Regions from separate parts of the Homo sapiens genome. Here all the other regions are linked to region 4. The links are contacts of gene promoters, found by promoter capture Hi-C in blood cells and fetal thymus (Javierre and others, 2016). All regions are on one chromosome and are shown on one strand. Each heading gives the region's core, a stretch centred on a gene start or on the middle of the fragment in contact. The rest is flanking DNA. Distances are from core to core; before and after follow the strand shown. Region 1 has its middle 63 kb from the start of ABCB5. Region 2 has its middle 110 kb from the start of ABCB5. Region 3 has its middle 17 kb from the start of ABCB5. Region 4 holds the start of POLR1F (RNA polymerase I subunit F). Region 5 overlaps ABCB5 (ATP binding cassette subfamily B member 5). Region 6 has its middle 36 kb from the start of ABCB5. Region 7 overlaps ABCB5 (ATP binding cassette subfamily B member 5).

Evidence for each region. The method cuts DNA at HindIII sites, captures the fragments that hold promoters and counts their contacts. A CHiCAGO score of 5 or more calls a contact.
Region 1: a contact is called between a fragment that was not itself captured here and the fragment with the promoter of POLR1F in region 4, in 1 of 17 cell types (monocytes). The highest score is 5.0, in monocytes.
Region 2: a contact is called between a fragment that was not itself captured here and the fragment with the promoter of POLR1F in region 4, in 1 of 17 cell types (monocytes). The highest score is 9.4, in monocytes.
Region 3: a contact is called between a fragment that was not itself captured here and the fragment with the promoter of POLR1F in region 4, in 17 of 17 cell types (naive CD8 T cells, total B cells, non-activated CD4 T cells and 14 more). The highest score is 103.7, in naive CD8 T cells.
Region 5: a fragment that was not itself captured here is called in contact with the fragment with the promoter of POLR1F in region 4 in 1 of 17 cell types (megakaryocytes); the score reaches 5.7 in megakaryocytes.
Region 6: a contact is called between a fragment that was not itself captured here and the fragment with the promoter of POLR1F in region 4, in 9 of 17 cell types (naive CD4 T cells, total CD4 T cells, activated CD4 T cells and 6 more). The highest score is 9.1, in naive CD4 T cells.
Region 7: a fragment that was not itself captured here is called in contact with the fragment with the promoter of POLR1F in region 4 in 6 of 17 cell types (M2 macrophages, M0 macrophages, M1 macrophages and 3 more); the score reaches 20.6 in M2 macrophages.

What each region holds. Positions count from the first base shown.
Region 1 is chr7:20,551,235-20,554,152 of GRCh38, reverse strand. No RefSeq gene overlaps it. Among named protein-coding and RNA genes, the nearest start is that of ABCB5, 63 kb to the left of the region's middle. The HindIII fragment of the contact is 945 bases long and covers 1,021-1,965 here.
Region 2 is chr7:20,504,574-20,507,445 of GRCh38, reverse strand. No RefSeq gene overlaps it. Among named protein-coding and RNA genes, the nearest start is that of ABCB5, 110 kb to the left of the region's middle. The HindIII fragment of the contact is 1,050 bases long and covers 857-1,906 here.
Region 3 is chr7:20,597,426-20,600,422 of GRCh38, reverse strand. No RefSeq gene overlaps it. Among named protein-coding and RNA genes, the nearest start is that of ABCB5, 17 kb to the left of the region's middle. The HindIII fragment of the contact is 1,494 bases long and covers 517-2,010 here.
Region 4 is chr7:19,707,755-19,710,512 of GRCh38, reverse strand. POLR1F (RNA polymerase I subunit F) reads left to right here and starts at 1,476. Exons shown (of 4, transcript NM_001002926.2): 1 at 1,476-1,750. The coding sequence starts at 1,497. RefSeq lists enhancers at 1,324-1,603, 1,145-1,747, 1,714-1,783, 1,748-2,352. The HindIII fragment of the contact is 8,345 bases long and covers 1-2,758 here.
Region 5 is chr7:20,696,815-20,699,514 of GRCh38, reverse strand. It overlaps ABCB5 (ATP binding cassette subfamily B member 5), which reads right to left. Exons shown (of 28, transcript NM_001163941.2): 17 at 965-1,108. Among named protein-coding and RNA genes, the nearest start is that of ABCB5, 82 kb to the right of the region's middle. The HindIII fragment of the contact is 833 bases long and covers 903-1,735 here.
Region 6 is chr7:20,578,499-20,581,428 of GRCh38, reverse strand. No RefSeq gene overlaps it. Among named protein-coding and RNA genes, the nearest start is that of ABCB5, 36 kb to the left of the region's middle. The HindIII fragment of the contact is 2,092 bases long and covers 405-2,496 here.
Region 7 is chr7:20,646,034-20,649,032 of GRCh38, reverse strand. ABCB5 (ATP binding cassette subfamily B member 5) reads right to left here. Exons shown (of 28, transcript NM_001163941.2): 9 at 2,895-2,999; 10 at 1,385-1,498; 11 at 955-1,065. Among named protein-coding and RNA genes, the nearest start is that of ABCB5, 32 kb to the right of the region's middle. The HindIII fragment of the contact is 8,939 bases long and covers 1-2,999 here.

The sequences.
Region 1 (2,918 bases), core at 244-2,743, 840 kb before region 4:
GTCGAGTACTATTATGTAGAGCAAAAGTAATACATTATCTTGAATTTCATCCTCACAACAGTGTGAGCTAAGTATTATGTATGAATGACGTAAAAGAGACTGGGAAAGGTTAAGATCTCTCTTTTGATATCTTTCCCATATTAGAGTTGGAATTCAAAAGCAAGTTGTCAGATTCTGGTACATAACGCTGATGAATACTTTGATGGAATTAATACAAACTTAAGCTGTTTTGGAGTCCAAAAGCAGTAGAACATCTTTCACTGTATTTTCCCTCCCTAAATGGTGACCTAGAAAAGTTGTCAACATTTATGATATTATACTTTTGGAAACAAAATATAAAGATCTTCAATCTGTAGAAAAATACACAGTAGAAGCATAATAATCTAGATTAGAAATTATTTTTTTTTATGAGTCAGAAAACAAATAGTTGACATGAGTTTACTCAAAATGGCAGGTACTTTTGGTGAAAAGAACTGGTCAGTGCAGCTTAAGCAGTTCGGGAAGCAGGGAACTCACCTTGTTTTATTTATATTGTTTGCTTGTAAGCTACTCTAGTTTGTAGTGAAGTCAGCTCCTACTCCTTATGCTTTTTTTTTTTTTTTTTTTTTGAGACGGATTCTCACTCTGTCACCAGGCTGGAGTGCAGTGGCATGATCTTGGCTCACCACAACCTCTGCCTCCCAGGTTCAAACGATTCTCCTGCCTCAGCCCCCAGAGTAGCTGGGACTACAGGCACGTGCCACCACGCCCAGCTAATTTTTCTATTTTTAGTAGAGATGGGGTTTCACCACGTTGCCCAGGATGGTCTCGATCTCTTGACCTCGTGATCCACCCACCTCGGCCTCCCAAAGTGTTGGGATGACAGGTCTGTGCCACCGTGCCTGGCCTGTGATACAACCAGAGAATGTAGCACTTATGGTTCATTCTTCTCAGTAAGTGCCCTCAATTCTGCTCCATGCAAATAGACATCAAATTAATGTTAAAGGTAGCTGTTCCCTTCATAAGAGATGCAGTAAAGCTTTTAAACAACAGAAAATAAAGGATGTCTCTGACTTTTATTGGATCTGTAATGGTTTTCTATTGTGTGTAAAAACTAGAAGTGTCCAGTAGCTGTTGGCATGTTTTCAAAGACTCTAACCCAAAGAGATTTAGATTTTTTTTCTAATTGACCATTCTTTTTATAACTTTGACTTGGGGATCAAATATCACAATTAAAGATGTGAGTGGTTGGATGAGTTGGGCAGGAAGGGTGTAGATTGGGCTGTTGTGAGGTGGTATGGCTTTGGGATGCTTTATCCAATACAGTATGTTTTATTTTGACACGAAAGAGAATTGCTGGTAACAGCATCAGCAGATAATACAATTTAAGAAAGATTTTTAAAAAAATTAAAACTTGGCCTAATTATGCTAAAAGATAAAGCTAAGAATGAGCCAAGGATTAAGATTTATGTACTGTATTACATTTCTTCTCTTTCCCACATTATTTATGGGAATATAATGCAGAAATGAGGTATCACCATTTGGTTTGGTTTTGACATTTTGCTGTTTTACTTTATTTAAAATTTCTTATCTACAGGATGAACATTATATTTCATTATTTGCCAAGCCCAATTAAATTGCTATCTTTATCTGTAACTTAGCTAAAGGTACTTTTCTTAACAACAAAATGAGTTTAATAAAAATATATATAATGTAATAACACAAAATGAATAGAAAACTTCTTTATATAGCCACACAGGTGTAGTAAATGGTTATAAATGTTGTTTGCATAATTCCCAACTATTAGTTTTTTTAAAAAAGTGATATTTAAATGCAAGAAAAAATCTATTTAAGTCAGAAATATATAAGAACAAATTTCTTATTAAATTTTTAAAAACTGATAAATTACACACACAATTTTTTTAGGGGAGGGCCTAGATACCTCTTTAAAAATTACCTTTTAAATTTTGAATTAGTAGAAAAGCTTTTAAATATGTATGCAATTTTAAAGTGCAATAGCAATTGCAATGGAAAATTCCTTAGATATAAATACTTACTGGGCATATATGCTTTATAAAGTTGTATAGCTTACATGTAGTATAATATAGTTGCGAGGTAATCAGTAGATATACTCTTTTTTAGTAACACAAGAGATTTCATTTTATATATGAATAAGTTTTTTAGTGACTGAAATTCTGAAAGTTTAAATAGAAATAAAAATTTTATCCAAGCAAATAAATAAGAAACTGAGATTTTCAATATTTGGCACTTATAGAGCTATGTTCATCTCAGTAGCATTGTAATTAGGTCACACTTTAGAGTCATGTTTGTTTGACTAGAATGTTCTAACTTGATTAAAAGAATTAATTAAACATTGTATTTATGCATTTACAAAGTCAAATATTGTCAATTTTTTCTGAAAGCTGGTAGAATTTCCTGTTCCACAAGTCTTCTGTTCAAGGAAGTGGCTATTTTCACTGGCATCCGTGTGAAGAGACCACCAAACAGGCTTTGTGTGAGCAACAAGGCTGTTTATTTCACCTGGGTGCAGGCGGGCTGAGTCCGAAAAGAGAGTCAGCGAAGGGAGATAGGGGTAGGGCCGTTTTATCAGATTTGGGTAGGTAAAGGAAAATTATAGTCAAAGGGGGGTTGTTCTCTGGTGGGCATGAGTGGGGGTCACAAGGTGCTCAGTAGGGGAGCTTTTGAGCCAGGAAGAGCCAGGAGAAGGAATTTCTCAAGATAATGTCATCAGTTAAGGCAGGAACAGGCCATTTTCATTTCTTTTGTGGTGGAATGTCATCAGTTAAGGCAGGAACCGGCCATCTGGATGTGTATGTGCAGGTCACAGGGGATATGATGGCTTAGCTTGGGCTCAGAGGCCTGACATTCCTGTCTTCTTATACTCATAAGAAAAATAAAATGAAATAGTGGTAAAGTGT
Region 2 (2,872 bases), core at 132-2,631, 800 kb before region 4:
GATTTTTAACAAAAGATGTGACTTGTATTTAACATCTTACTCATTTCCTGGCTGTTACAAGGATAGATTGAATGATTACTTCTTGTAAAGTCACAGTATAGCATTATGCTTGCCAGGTGGGTATTTTCAAGGGCAGGGCTGTGATTAAATGTACTTTAGTTGTTCTTATTGTGACTTTCTGAATTCTTCATCATTGTGTTATGTACCTCCAGATCTAGTAGGTAGCAGAGGACCTTTGGGGAAAAAAGCCATTCCGATTCATCTCTTACCACCAAATATCCCCATGCCTCACCTACTCCAGAAGAATATTTGTACCTACAAATCAGCTGAAGAAAGGGAGGGCTGCAAGTTTCATCCACTCCATGGCTTCCACTTCCAACGCGCACACACACACACACTTACACCCCACACATGCTAATGACTTCTCGGTCTTTTTTCCCAGTCCTTTTTTCCCAGCCTTCTCTTTGGCTCCAGATCCACATTCCAAGTGCCTTTTTCCGTCCTCTCCTAAAATCACACCTGTTAAACTTCTCATATTTTTAACAGATCACCACCTATCTAGTTTCCCAAACCAAAAATGTTCATTTTAAACTTAAATTCTCTCTCATTCTGTATCTAACCAGCCATCATATCTTTTCAACTCTTAACTACAAAATATTTCATTAACCTCACTTCAACATTTTCTCCTCATTTTTATTCCACTGGGTCAGGTCTGAAAACTCCACTAATGCAATTTTCTGTGGTCTTTCTCTCCCTTTTTTTTTTTAATCTTCAAAACTATCTGTTTTCTGGGCCACCTACGAAGATAAGATTTATATCACTTTGTTGCTCAATAATACTGATTGTACCTTAAGCTTCTCTTTGTTCACTCTTTAGTTTTGTATAATAAGTTCTTTAAAGTATGAACTATCTGAACTCTTTCTAATACTCTATTTATCCAAACATATCACCCGCTATCTCATATCTTACCCCAAAACCCTATGTTCTAGGTTTTAGATGTTATCAATTATCCCTTGCTTCCTGTGACCTTGTTTCATGATGGAAGCTCTAAGGAGTCCTTTGAAAACTTGCATTTCTGTCCTTATCTGCAAGGCCATTTAATGACTCATTCTTCGCATAGGCCAGACCCCATCTTACCCCATTCACCATTTGGCCTTTCAAGAAATAGTGTTAGGGAGAATTGCACTGAAAATACTTGTATTTTGATGTACTTCATTTCCAAGGGGATGTGTTCAATCATTTTTTCAATATCCTCTTGGCCTTTATTGAATACCTACTATGTGCCAGACACTGAATATAGAGATACAGTCCTCTTCATAAAAGTACATAGTCTAGTAGAAGGAATGGATACATTAAAAAATGTAGGAATTAATTATATCCTACCTTCAGTCTAAGTGAATATGTAGTTGTGAATGTCTAGCAAATGAGAAGGGCTGGCTTCTCATAAGAAAGTGAAAATGTGGACCACTTCTCATTTTTCAGCCACTTTTAAATTATTAAGTAAGGGAAATAATATTTCAGGAGTTTCTTTTGGTTAAAGCCCTTACATTTTCGAAACACTTAAAAAAATTTTATATATCATGTTCATAAATAGTTTGTGAAGTTCGCAAAACAAGTCCAAAATTATAAGTGAGATCTAATGAATATGAGTTTTACAGCTTTTATTTTTCCCCTCGGTGTTTCATGCCATAAGTGCTACTGAACAATTAAAATGTTGACCAAAACAAAAGGATAAGAAGCAACAAATTTTTTCACTGGGCCACAAATAGAGGAATCTCTGCTTTATTGCTGAGACAGACTTATAAACAGTGTATATAATTAGCTATTTTGCACATTCACGTGTGTATGCATCAGATGTTCTAGTATGTTTATAAAAATACCTAGTTCAATTATGTTTTTCAAAGCTTAATTAATTCTCTTGGGGTTTATGTCTAAAAATACTGCCCAGTTCTGTCTACAACCATTTGCTTGTTATACCACAGACTAATTTTTATACTATTATTACAACTTGGACTGGCAGCTTGGGGCTAAATGTGCCCATATATATTTGTTTTCTACTAATCTTTTTAAAATTTATTTTTTGAGATACTTTTATCAGCCAGAACCATGATTTCAGTATGGCTCAATTAAAATCTAAATGTGCATTCTAGTTAAAAGTTGCTTATAATTTTTCGGTGTTCAGTTTGTGATTTCAAATTTACTCTTAATGGATAATCAATCCAAGGGCTGGAAGAGACTTTATGGGGTCACTTGGTTCCCCTATTGCCTGAGACGTGTAAAAGCCTGACTTATCTAAGTAGACACTCTCATTTAAATTTCCCTGAAGGTAAAAAAGGCCACAGCCTTGCCTAGGTGAACTACTTAATTACTGTTGTAGTCGATATGGTGTTCTTTTTTAGGTGTATTCAACCTACATTATCCTATTGTTGCAAATTAAGCCAAATTCCTTTTCAATTTTTGGCAGATATTCACTGGGCACTATCTTTCATCAACTTGCAGGCATTAATATAGTGGTCTTCTATTTGCAAGATTAAAAAAAAGAAAGAAAACAAAACCAAAACTTCAGTACCCCTTTCTTACAGAATCCATATTTTTATTTATTTTCTTGGTGCCCTTTTCATTTCTCCATAATTTAAGATGCTAAAAGAGACCAGGTGTGGTGGCTCACACCTGTAATCCCAGCATTTTGGGAGGCCGAGGTGGGCAGATCACTTGAGGTCAGGAGTTAGAGACCAGCCTGGCCAACATGGTGAAACCCTGTCTCTACTAAAAATACAAAAATTAGCTGGGCATGTGCCACCAGGCGTAACCCCAGCTACTCGGGAGGCTGAAGCAGGAGGATCGCTTGAACCTGGGAGGTGGAGTTTGCAGT
Region 3 (2,997 bases), core at 14-2,513, 890 kb before region 4:
TTGAGATTTTGGGATGACTAACGCTCCTAATGGCCCCCTGCCCACCGACAATGGAAGAGTGAGAATTAGAGGCAGGTTTCCTGTCCATCTTTCCCCCACCCTCCTGTGGTTTCTGTTACAATACTGAGAAGGAGAGGAAGAAGGTTGAATTTGTCTTAAGTGGGGAGAGGATTATTTGCTCCCACATCAGAGCTGAAACTGGGAGAAGGTGTGTTTTTTATCTACTCACTTAGAATTTAGAATGGAGATCTCAAATTTCTTCCAGCCCAGGAATTCTATTATTCTGTATTCCCAAAGTAACATCACTGTCCATTTTTGCTACCTATACCAGTCCTATTTGTGGAGTTATGTAATTGAAGCCTGTCTTTGGCATTAATCTGTGGGATTGGCTGTGAAATAAACCATTGTATATAATAATACTTAATATAAGAAAAATGTTTGCTACATTCCAAATAATAAGCAAAAAAGTAAACTTTTGAAACAAGCTCTTCCTTTACCTTAGGTTCAGGTAAAGCTTAGAAGGCCAAGATGATGTTTTCTAAGGAAACATTTTATAAGGGTGATTGTGGATTCCCGTGCTGCCCACAGGGAGGCCACACAAATCAGGACTTCACAATATTTTCTTGCGATAATTTGTTTACATATTTATTCCTAGGCCTGTTTTCTCCCTCCACAAAGCCAGGTTCCTTGAGTTAAAAGGGTTACTTTTTCAACTGCTATATATAACAATAATTATAGTCTGCTCCAGTTCTTCTACACCCTTCATTATTATTCAGATTTTGAGGTCTATGGCAGATTAGAATTCCTGGGTCATTTTCAGAGATTTGAGATATTTTCCTCAACCTCATTATTTTCCAGCATAAACATCTGAAATCAGAAGCAACGAGGTAATTTAAATGAAGATCAGAATGAGTTATTGACAATTTCAGATAAAAAAACAGGTTTTTGGTTTTAAAAAATATCAAATTGGAAAGAGGAGGACAATTATTTCCAGTAAAATGTAAAACCATAGGAATAGCTATTATTTATGGGCTACCTACTCCAGGCCGAAATCTTACTATATAGGATTGTATCGAATCCTCCCCAAAGCTGCCCGGTAGGCTGTATATATGTCGCCTTCAATGTTTGGGATGCGAAGATGGCGCCCCAGAGACGTCAGTCTGTCATAACGATCACGTGACTTTATGGGAAGACCTGGCATCCGATCCCAAGTCCCTCAGAAGCCAAAGCCCACAGACTTCCTCTACGCCACACTGACTTTCTCTCATTTGGCTTTCAAGTGCGTTTCTACTCTGGTTATCATATTTATCATCTCAAGTTTCCTACTCAATTACATACTTTCTTTCCAAAATAAATATTTATCCACATAAACCTCTATCTTCACAGGAAGCAGAAAGTTGAAAATCGCATAATCTCCATGAAAATTTCTGGTGATCTTCCTACGGGAAAGGGAAGTTGCGGTTTGCAAGGAGCACAGGCAGGGACCTCTTACCAGTAGTTTGTGGGTCGTTGGACCACAGGAGGATGGGGGAAGCATTTGGGCAGCCAGAACACATAAATCCATATTTGAAATACCTTCATAAGCAGTGTAGTTGGTGGGAATAACTTGGGTTCATTAATTATTCTGTAATATTCTCTTTCTGAATGCCTTGTCCGATTATTAAAGTCAGAAGAAGCTATGCAACCTGTCAGCCACTAGATGTCATTGTTGCTCATGAAATAGAATGGCTCATTCTACAGTGTTTATGTGTAGATCCTTGAATGACTGCTGTCCTCTTCCCTGAAGTTTACCCTTCAACTAAGAGCTATGAGTAATATAGAACATGTGGCTTCTGATAAGAAAAAACTTGTGTCCTTGATAGAAGCACGATAAACCTATCTAAACAGTTACAGAATATCACAAGAGTGTGCATTCATTTATGACCACTTACAAATATGAAGAACAGAGGTAACAAGAGCTCTCAGATCCAGAGAGAGAAATAAATGTAAACTGCACTGGCTGTGGAAGCTTCTAGAGATGTGGGACTCAGGTGCTGTTCTAATGGATGATTAAGACTAGGGTAGGAAGAAAGCAAGATCATTTCAAGAAGGAGGCATGCCATGAGCATTTGTGTGATGGTGGGAAAAAATACTCAATTTGGGTGAAGTAGAAGATTCATTCTGGGAAGAGTAGAGCTGCTGGTGAGGGTGACAGATGGTATAGGAACAGAAAAAACAGAGGAGTGCTTGAATTTACCTTCCATCCTGAATTTGCCTCTGAAAGTTTCTGAGGAGAGTGATGTGATGCAAATTGCACTTTAGGAAGATGAAGTGTCAGCGGTGTATAGATCCAGGAGAAAGGAAGAGTCGTATTAGGGAGAACACATACACTACAGAAAGTGGACAGCCGCTACAGTGTCCAGGTAACAAACTATAGCAGAAGACCAGTAAGGTGAACACAAAAAAATGACTGGGCTACCCTGACATGGCTATCTCTCGTTGAGGAAGACATGCTCCTGAATGGAAGGAATTAAAATATCTGGAGACTTAAACCTTGTGAATGGCCCTTCATTGTTCTCAGGACAAGGGCCCCCCAGGTCATCTAGGGCCACAGGTCCAAGCATCCTGGTGCTATGCCATTTTCTTCTTTCAGTTCCCTGAACTCATCACGCGCCTCCTGCTTCAGGCTCTCGCCTGAGTTGTTCTCTGTCTCCATCCCCTCTTCCTCCCCCTTTTCTCCCCTTACTTGTCTCTCTGTGTGCATCAGTTTCTTTACAATACACTCTCATAGAACCAGGAGCTTCTGCATCACAGCATTTATCCCTTTTCATTTATATTTCATACTTATGTAATTGCGTAACATCTGTCACTCCTTCTAGAATGTAAATTCTGTGGTAAAAGGGCTTATGTCCTCATATGCTCTCCATCATGTCTATTCTCATCACTGTGGGAGACAGAGAAGAATCAATTGCTTCTCTGTTGGGTCTCTGATGAGCCCACAGAGGGGAGAGGCGGTGA
Region 4 (2,758 bases), core at 227-2,726:
TTTACAAGTCAGAAATCAGGTTTAGAGAGGCTAAGAGGCTTTTTGCAGTATTTAGGAGATGAGGGAGTATGTTAATACTCACATCACTGCTATACATTTCTCTTGGCACTTATCCAGCATAACCTGTTATATGTTTATGTTTAGATCCCACTTCCACTTAGGCTGTGAGCTCTTTATCACTTATTATTTATTAACTCACTATCAGGTTATTCATTCAAGATGTATTGGTTGGGTTTTTCTTGGTTTCGTTTCTTTGGAGGAGGGATAAATTGTGGGGGGCTACTGTAGTGAACAATACAGATATTATGGTCCCCACTTTAGTGAGTGTAGGAATCTATTGATGGAACAGGCAAGCAAAGACAGTTAATAAAAAATTAACATAAAAACCAACATAGATGGGTAACTACCTAATCCTTATAGAGAAAGAGGAGTGGGGTGCTTGAAAACTCTTTGCAAAGGTATAGAATGTAAAATCTAAGCTAGAAATTCATACATGAGTAGAATTTACCCTTGTGAAAAATGCTATTATATTCCCTGGTGGAAGGAACAGCGTGAGACTGCACAAAGAGAGACCTGAAAGTAGATCAAGCAGCATGATAATATTAGGGTGGGGAGTGTGACAAATGAAGCTGAAGAGAGAGGCTGTGTGCCCACGCAGATCACAAAATGGCCTTGTAACTTATAAGCCATTTTCATGAGTTTGTGTTGTCCTAGAGAAAATGGGGTGCCTATGTAGGGCTTAAACAGGGCACAACACGATCATATGTATTTCAGGGAAGATCTGGCTGCCCCAGAGTGTCCTCCTGACCATTGAGCTAGGCTTCCACAGGCAGGGAGTCCTGCGGTTTTGGCGGCAGGGAAAGAGAATAGTGTCCAAATAGAATGATATTTCCACTTTGGGCAATACAGGTCTTCAGGCTGATTTGATACTTGGGGATACAAAAGAGGATCCGAGGCTGACAGCTTGGCTGTATGATTCCCTGATTTAGCAGTTGCATAATGAGAAGAGAAGCGGGACAGGAGAGAACTAGTGGGTTCGTTTTCAGATGCGTTGCATTACAATTATCAGGCCTGCTTAGGATTCCGTGTACTGCATAAAATATACTCCATAAATATTTTGATTTTTTATTGTACAGTCCAAGCCTGTAAAATTCTACCAAACCCACCTCACTACTGGAAATGATCAAAGTGAGAACCCCCATTTTTAAGCTACCTACTTAATCCAATAAGCCTCTGTGCGAAAACACACATTTGCCTGCCCTTAAAAGAGCAGTCGGTTGGCTTTCCTGCGTGCTCAATGCATTTCCGAGGCTCTAAGCTCCCGTTCTCGAAGCGCGAAAACGCGGTTCCCCCTGCTGGTCAGGGCTGCGTAATGCAGCGAAAAGAGGGGAAATTCCTAGGGGCGTGGTCGTTGGTGGATGGCGTAAAACGAGCGCCGGGGACATGGGATTGTGCTTGCGTCAACGGCGCGCGCCGTGGGAACCTTGACAAGCAGCATGGCTGCAGGTTGCTCAGAGGCGCCGCGGCCAGCGGCGGCTTCTGATGGGTCTCTGGTAGGGCAGGCTGGCGTCCTGCCTTGCCTAGAGTTGCCGACTTATGCCGCTGCTTGTGCGCTGGTGAACAGTCGCTACTCATGCCTGGTGGCCGGGCCGCACCAAAGGCACATCGCGCTGTCGCCCCGCTACCTTAACAGGAAACGCACCGGCATTCGAGAACAGCTTGATGCGGAGCTCCTTCGCTATTCTGAGAGGTACCGATCTCTTTGCCTGTTCCTTCTTTTGTGCACGGGAAGTAAAGCAGGTGGATGTGCTGACGACGCAGCAGAAAGGGGCAAATGGCAAAGGTCGCATTGCCCCCCAGAGCTTAGCCCCCTGGATTTCTAGAGTCGCGATCCGTCCCTCAAGGCCAGTACCGCTCTGGTAAAGATCTATACAGGGTCCCTTTCATAGATAGAGAAGAAAACTTAAAGATGAAGTTCAGGTGTGGGCGGAGGGAGTGGAGATTCTTGCTCCAGAACCCTGGTGTAGGGGTAGGAAAAGACCAGGGATCTGGAGACCTAGTAGGCCCAGTTCTGTTTGGCATTCAACGTTTCATTTATCCCCTTACGGATGATGCTTTCTCATTTGACGATAAAAATCTGGTTTGCAGTGCTTGAGTAGATTCTCATTCCATAGAAGATAGCATACGAAGCATTAGTACAACCGTTCTATTTGTAAAACATGAAGGACCTTTTTTGTTGTTGGATTTCGCTCTGGTAATTTCCCCATTTTCTCTTCTCTTGGACCTGATCTGGGGATTATGAAAATGCCATTAGTTTAGCGGGATTTTGTTGTTTTTAAGAAGATTTATTCAGTCGAACTAGTGAGCCTGTTGCTTTGGGGAGAGAAAAAACCAAAACGTATGCATTTATATTACGGTATTCAAAAGTGACTTGAAAACTTAGAATTACAGAGGTGTGGGGCGGGGGGCGCGGGCATGTGCTTGAGTATTCCTCTGGACTATACTTTGGTTTAAAAGCGGGGTTCTAAAACTAGAGGGAATGGATTCTCTAGGGATTCATGATTGCCCTTCAGGAATTCCTATGTGAAGTTCCTTGGGCACTGCATCGGAAGTTTTTATCAGTTTCTTAAGGGATCCTGGACCTCCACCCATGTCTAGAATCTGCAGATTCTTCCAAGCACCAATATACACTTCTTGTATGTTTATATTACATACCGAACACTTGAGATACAAAAACAAAAAATAAAATCTCTGTTTC
Region 5 (2,700 bases), core at 70-2,569, 990 kb before region 4:
TGGGCAGGCTGGTCTCAAGCTCTTGACCTCAAGTGATCCGGCTGCCTCCGCCTCCCAAAGTGCTGGGATTACAGGCGTGAGCCATTGCACCCAGCTTAAAATAAATTTCAACATAAAAATAAAACTATACACACATTTCTGTGGGAAAAAGTGCACCATGATGCTATCATCTGCATACATTATCTATGATAAAAAATAACTTGCTTTTAATTCTCAAACTATGTAAATATGAGATCTGAATAATGAGTCATCTATCTGCTATTATTATCACAGTATATTTCCCAAGAAACCACCAGTTTGCTTGAATTATTATTTTGAATAATTTTTGATCACTCAAGTTTCTTAGTAGTCTTCTAGTTAAGTAGTACCTGCAAGGTGAGGCTTTTTAATGTGCCCCCAGAATTTTTCTTAAAAATTAGTAACATACATACACAGGCATTTATACTGATAAAGTATAGCTGTGCAAATTAGGGAGACTGAAGTTCCAGGCTAGAACTTTAGTTAACATTGAAGAGTAAGCATGGATCTTGTAAGATCCTTAAACACACCAATTGCCCTGAGTCCTTTAGCAAAATCCCAGACTCTTGTTATTTCTTCTCCCTGAGCTGGCTGGTAAGAAAAGAAATTGCAACTATACCCACTAATTGAAAGGAAAGTAGTTGTATTTGCCTATTTTATTTCTTCAGTGTTTTGGAATGCTGATCCAGCACTGGAGTAAAAATTAGAAAACAAAGCAATTTCTTCACTGATTGCCCAGTCAACAAGGCCCGGCCACACACTTTACAAGAGATGCTGGCTTATCTCCTGGGAACATTAATTAACCTTCCTATCACGGACTCCACACTAGGGGCGGCCCACTAAAAGTCCCAATTTTCCCCTTGTGGTTTAGACTGATACAAGCTTGTTCTCTCAGGTCATACTTTCTTTAAATTGCTGAAAGTATTAGCAAATTTATTTTACTTACGGTTATAATTTTTGCAAAGATGATGGAAAATACTGGATGAACAGTTCCATTTAGAACAGAAGCCAATGTCCCCAGAACCACAAAAGGCCATTCAGGCTTGTTTAACTTTAAAATTTTTAATAGAGAGACTTCAGGAAGACTTATCTAAAAATAAAATATGTTGGTTAAAAATGCCAGTTTGTGTGCATAACAGAATCTAGTGAAGTTAGCCCATCATAAACAGAATTATAATGTATAACATCAAACATAACAGACAGCAGGGTAGAAAATATTTTTCTTAAAAAATTCACTGCCCGTATTATTAACGATGACCCTAAAGCATAAAATAAAAGAAGATTTGCCACAAGTGACTATTTGTGCAATATCACTTTTTGGCATTTCACTCAGTTGCTATTATTTAAAAAGTACAGTTAACTCACATGTAATTGTTAAGGGTCACAAAAGAAATGGCAGGTGTATTTTTCTTTACTCTTGTTAAACTGGATGGAATATTGTACTACAGGATAAGAAAAAAATCTAGGCAGAAGCTAAGAAAAGAAAATGTGGAAGGTAAAAGTTTCATTACGATCTCAAACTTGAAAGTTGGAAAGTTTCAAGATGTATTTACAAAAACATTTTCCTAATACCTTGGCTTGTTTTGGAGTTCTTATTTACAAGCAAAATATTGCAATATCCGAGCACATTATTTAAACTCACCAAGACTGTCTCCTCATTTTTCCAAGGGGAGTGGTATCAGTTCCTATCTTGTAGGATTGTTTATACAATTAAGCTTTATTCAGTACATTTGCAACTCACTGTATTTGCAAACAATAAACACCCAATAAATGCTAGCAGTCATTGCTGTTTCTGATGTTATTACAGAGGAAGGATTATGTTACACAAAATTTCAGGTTTTATACAGAGAAAGCACAATGCAAGTAGTCATTCTGGGTCTGCCAGCCCTTCCTAGGAGACGTGGAAGGTGACAAGGGGAGGTAGTGGTCACAGTGGTCAGAGGATAAATAATACGATAACGATCTCTCTTGGCTCTTGTCTGCAATAAGTAGTGTATTTCAGAATCTTAAAAATTCTTCTGAACAGCTTTGTGGTGAGTAATTATTCTGAGTAGGAAAGTAGACAGTGAATTCTTTGGTATTTCATTCATTAAAACTTCCTCATGGCATTCACTCTTAAAATAATGACATTTATGGACCTAATAACCAGAGAATTCTTCAAGTAAGACTATAAAATAGTTTATAATTCTCGTTCTATTCTCAGTGTGGCCACTATAATGCGGACTGTTGTTTGGACAACAGAACTTTGAAATTCTGATGCCTTTAAAGTCCATTTTCAGGGTGGCTAACCCACATTTATATTGGATTACTTAATAATTTGATTGTATCCATCATTTTTCCTGCTGAAGTTTTCTAAAGCTCATCATCAAAAAGGGCACAACATTTCAGCTAGGTCACTGTTCAAAAGAATGTACAAAAATTTAAAAAGTTGCACGCTAACTATCAGGCACTGAGCATGAAACTAAGTGCATTACAAAATTACCTTATTTGGTAAGGAGATTAAGGTTTAACATGTGCCAGGACACCAGTAAATTACAGAGCCAGGAAATTAGGAGGGCTATCTTCCTCCTATAGAACGATCTACATTACATAGGTAATTTAAAGATGTTCTTTTGCCTCTGGGAAAATACACAATAAAAGATTTAAAATGGTATCATTTAAATAGTGTTGTCAAGATAGAAA
Region 6 (2,930 bases), core at 201-2,700, 870 kb before region 4:
AGAAACATGAACATTTTTTGGAGCATGTAAATTGGTGGCAGAAGATGACTTGTGCATATATTTATACACACATACACACACGCAAACATACACTTTCACCCAAGCATTTCATTTATAATTCCTAGAAAGTGTATCTACCTTAGAAAGCATTGATTCCTAGCATTTCGGGGTCATTCACTTTTTTTTTTTATAATTTTATAAAAGTTAAGGACTCTAGCTCCAAAACTGAACACTCACACACTCACACAATTTTGAATACATTTTTATTGATTCAAATGCAGCTATGTATCTAGGATACCCTTCTAGCAGCCATAATCAAACCATTTTCATCTTACTTTTTGGCCTTGCGTACATTTTGACTTTATGTTAACTGACGTATCTTTGTATCTGTTTTGCTACAAGCTTCAGTGCCAGGGATATCTTTTATCAGTAATGCTGAGAAATGTTCATTTTTCCAGGAAGGTCACTGGGGCCTCCCCCTGCTTGGCACTTATTGCTCCGTATTCTCCTTGCCAATTCAAATGCCGGTCTCTCCTTCTAAACCCTGAACCTCTCAAGGGCAGAGACAAGGTCTCGTTTAGAGGAGTGCAGCCTCCAAGATCATGTCTGGTTTTAATGGCCCCTAAATAATTACTTACTGGATTTTGTGCAAAGTGTTATTCTCATTAAACACTTATGAAGATATGTGAAGTTCAGTGATTTGCCCAGAATCAAACAGTGAATAAGTGGTGTAGTGCATATTACTCTCAAGACAGCTGACTTTCAGTCCAAAGATATTTCCCATACATTACCTGTCAAGGATTAAAAAAAAAAAATAGCTGCAGTGCAAGTCACTACCAATATGTGAACTCTTGTCAGAGGTAAGGTCTCAGTAGCTTGGGGCTGACCCAGAGAATGGAGCATGACTGTTCAGAGCCTCATGATACGGGTCTCAAAGAAGAAAAGAAAGGAAATCTTGAGGTAGAGAGAGGCTTCCAGAGAGCAAGACAATATATATCTTAGGGAAACTCTGTTATAGTCATCAAAATGATGGCACATTTTAGGATTTGTAGAATATTGATTCAAAAAGTGCTTTAATCTCCTTAAAAATGAAAATATTTAAGGATGTGTGATTTTCGGGGGGATACTGTAAGAAACATTCTTGCAACCTAGGATATCAGATTGCAAGCCCGGTTAACTAGTTAACTGGTTGACTGCAGTTCAATATTATTATTGGCTCATGCCTTCCTATCCACTTTTCCCTCCCAGCTGCCAATTTCTACAAAAGAAATCTCATTAATGTCTTTTGTTCATGACATGTCTGTGTTGTTTCTGTAACTCTTTTTGTAGAAAAATAATCTGTTATTTCTTGTTTTATAAGTGAAAAATTTGGATGTTTGTGAAAATATAAGATGAACTTTACTGACGGCTTAGTCATTATCAACTTCTTAATCAACTTGATTAACTTAGAAGGTGACTTTATGGTGAATGGCACAGAAGACCTAAAGTGTCTGGTTTAATAGCTGAAACAACCCTTTGAGTCGCTGATTTATTTTTTCACTTTATTCCAATTCAATTTTTATAATATAGGCTTCCTGAAATTTGCCACATCTCTGAAAGTAGAAAACAAGTCAATAGAAGACGTTTCTAAGAAAAGCCAGCAACCAGAGTGAGCACAATCAATTTGAACATGTTAACTATAAGTTCATACTCAAAGAGTGAACTCATATTTAGTGTGGACAACTTCTAAATGGGAAAGATTGAGGGGATATGTTCAGAGAATAGCCTAACTTTTAGAGAAATTGCAGCCATTTTCTGTTTTGGTGGATACATGAAATATTCAGGAAAGTTATGCTTCTGTTGACTTTGATTGAAAAATAGGTTACAGGGTCTTTTTAGTTTTCTTGGATGATTCATTTTGAAATCTGGCATTAAGACAGCATTAAGAAAATACTGTGGAAAGAGAATCTCACAACATCTAGCCCTAAGGCATTTGAAAATCTTCTCTTTATCCTTTTATGTTAATTTCTTAATTTTTTAAAAAGTCAAGGGCTGATAGTAAATATTCATCCCCCCAAAACAGCATTTGTGAATATTCATCCCCAACAAACAGCATTTGTGAAATATCTCTTATGTATAAGTATGTTCATAGCATGGACTCATGAATAAATTTGTATTTAGGGTTGAACTAAGCCATAGATAATGCAAGTATTTTGGGGGAAGACACCCTTATTAAGGTATGTCACAAGATTTCTTATTGAGAGGCCCATCTCATGCCACCCTCTTCCAATTACCTGAGATTGACACTGTTGCCTTCCTAAAGAAGATACCACCTATTGTTAATGGGTGTAGGAGGTTGCAATGCTCTGTGTGTATGCATGCACGTGCACGCATGCACGCACACACACATACACACGCACTTATTAAGATACCTACAGCAAAGGAAAAAAGGGAAAAAGAAATCACGTGTTATCAAAGACTTAAAGTCATTTCAAGGATGTGTCAAGGTGCTAAGCTTGGCCCAAAATTAACATTTTTTTTTTTGTTTCTTGGAAGGGTGAAAAATTAAGCCATGAGTTTCTATTAGCTGAAGAGCACAACTGGTTTGCAAGACTAGATGACCAATACCAGGTCAGATGAGGGCACTGATGAAAAAGAACACAGAACAGGTAAGTTTATTTATTTATTTATTTTTGGCGAGACCTGGGAGAAGCTGAATGAGAAAGGGTATACATGGCAGCCCAGATTTTACATCTCTGCATGGTGATCGAAGGTTAGAATGAAGGAACAGGAGATTCCAAGAGAGAAGTAGGCAATCACCAACAGGTTTTCTTTGACACTGTGCTGAGCTCTGGCCTGCAGAGAAGGTAGACCTCGACAGGGAGACAAGTGGCACTTGAGTGTGTTTAGCAGGGCTCATTAGAACTATGGAGATCTGGCAGCATCACTGT
Region 7 (2,999 bases), core at 500-2,999, 940 kb before region 4:
AACCCAAAGAACACTTTCCCATGCAATATAATGGCACAATTGGTGCTGAAGTCCCTAGGAAGCCAATCCAAATACAGTTGCAAAATGTAGTTTGAAATACTGTACAGTTAAGAAAAATGGTGGAAGTCAATACTATACCAATAATGGTAATCGGTAATTAAGTAACAACTTTCAAAACTAAAGAGCTTTGAAAAGAGAATTTCGATCAAAGTTTTAATCAGAAAAAAAATAAGGAAGTAGGAGTAGGTAGGTCTTTATACAAATTCTGTAGCAGACATTAGAAATTGATCACACTAGTAATTTTATCTATTTCACTTAAAATCATGTCTTTTTCTATGAAGCCAGTGTTTTATTAGTAATCGCCTTGTGCAATCTTTAACAACAACTACTTTTTTGGTAAATACACTAATGAAGTGAAAGGGGGAAGACAATAAAAAAGACACACATTTTCACAAGAACTTGTCAAAGACTGAATGATGGAGTACGATAAACTGCGTGTGTGTGTGCGTGTGTGTAAAGGCGATAAAGTACTAGCCGCAATTGCTGCTGCAGTAAAAGCCCCAGGAAAGGAAGAAGGGAAAGGCACATGTGCATAATTCTCCTAGGTTAGAGAGGAGGGGGTTAAAATGAGTATGTTGAGTGGGGTAGCATCTAGGAACCACCAACAGGTGGCAGCGTCAACCCAAGACATTTAGGTGTGTTCCCAAACCCAGAGTAGAAGAATTTCACGGAGCTGAAAATGCTTTAGTCAGTTGAATATAGAAAGAATGCTGCAAAATATAACTAGTTGATCCAGAGTTATTTGTCCATTATTTATCTACCTCCTCAAGTCTCTAAGCAAAGTAGCCAAAATCTTGGAAAAAAGTGATCCTAAGTAATCATGTCAGAGAAGATCTTGGCCAGTAGAAGATAATATCAGAAAACTGCACAATTGCGTAATTTGTTTTAACCTACCTTGATAGATGGTCTTGATGGATAATTGAAAGAAACATTTTTAAATTCCACAGTTCCTTCTATGGATTCAGGTTTATATCCAGCTGTGGAAAAGTTATCTATACTGGGTTTCTTGGAAAAACAAAGGAAATGTTATAAATCTTCAAAGGAGTAAACTGACAGTCTCTACATTTTAAAAATAGTATAAGGATGGTTTTCTTCCATGACAGTTTCCTTTCTGCTTTAGAAGTGCATTGAGTTAGACATGAAGGTTTCAATACAACACAATCTCCTCTTAGAAAAGAATTAAAGGCAGTCTCTCTTTCCCATAAACAACTGGCCAACATTAAATTTGTCCATCCTATTGTTTTAGTGAAAATGAGGGTGTATGTTTTTTTGTCTCCTTCTTGCAGTAATGATAGTTATTCTTCAAAGCAATAAGAGGTCTTACCTTATCAATAACCTGGAAAATATGAAAGGCAGCTCCTCGGGCTATTGCGAAGGTTTCAAAGTGAGGGACTGCTGCTCCAATGCAATAACTGCTATGGATTACACTAAAGAAAACCTACAGGAACAAACAAAGTGATATTTATCTTTCTGCAGTTATATAAGAAAGACAATAGAATGTAATATATAATTATTGGTTTAGGCTCACAGAGAGATATTAGAGGAATTAGGTAAGAAAGAATGGAAGATATGACCAAATAAAAAAGAACACAGATTACACTTGATCTTAGCCAAAAGGCCGAGAAGCAATAGAAACACAGATTAATCCAAGTATCCTTGGCCTTTTCCTAATAAGGAACAACTTTTGATTATCTCATAGTCTTGTGGTTATCACATGCTGGGATGTGTGACCAGAAAAATCTGCTAACTGAAGTGTGCTGACCATGTATAAACCCCATGGTGAGTTGCACTCCCCTCCTTGTTGGGTGACCCCTTGAACTTTAAAAAGAAAAATTCAGTAGATTTTATTGGCTCAGAGACATTGTACTGTTTTCACTCAAACCGTTTTTGAATTTTTGTATTAGGGGACAGCTGTCCATTTTAAGACAGACTCATCTCTGCAAAAAGTCAAATAAGAAAAGAATCCCTCAAGCTAGGAGCTCTTACTCCTATCATATAGATGAGGATGCTTAGGCTTAGTAAGCCAGATACCCAGCCACACATAAATTGAGGAGCAAGGATGAGTGAAAAATCGTTCATGCTCACATTTCACTTTATATGAAATAAATGAATAGCTAAAAGTCTTAATTATGAATGCCTCAAATTCAAAAGATGAATTTAATGGAAAGAAGAGAAATCTGTAAGAATGGAAAGGCCAAACAAGGATCAAAGTATAAAGAGCAGATCATTTTGGTTCCTCAAGACAAATGTTTCTTAATCCTGAACTGATCTGTTTATTGTAACTTAAGAGGATAACTGAATAAATTATTATTTAACACATAACCCATAAGAATTTAAAAGTCTCCAAACTGTGATACTGGACAGAGCTATATGTAGTCTGTTTTTTAAATTACTACATGCTGAAAGGACAGAGGAAGAGGAGGTGAGTGTAAACTCTACAGACCATTTCCAGAGAGAAGACATTTAGCAAGGTGAATGCAGAACTCCGTCTGATCTCAGCCCAGATGAAAGGAAAAGTCTCACAAGAGAATGGCCTTTTTCACTGCTAGATTAACAAAACTCAGTGTATTTCCCAGTGGGGAATTCAATTATGATTCTTCCAAAAGCGGAATGCAGATGCTTGACACAGCGAGGACACTAAAACATGCTGGATGAATAAATGCTGTCAATTCATAACTATAATTTAAAGGTGTATACAGATAATTTGAGGGAAACAAATATTTGTTTAATAAAAACATCCATCTTTGAATATTTATCTTCAAAGAGGAATTTTGGCTAAACTAGGTAAGGAAAGATTATCCAGGCCTGACACCTTGTTCTCAAACAAGACTTACAGCAAGAACAGTCCCGATGGTATATCCAGGTTCTCCATTAAGAATCAAGGAGGTTCCATACCAAAAAGCAAGTCCATAGGTTCCATTCATAAAGAAGTACACAGC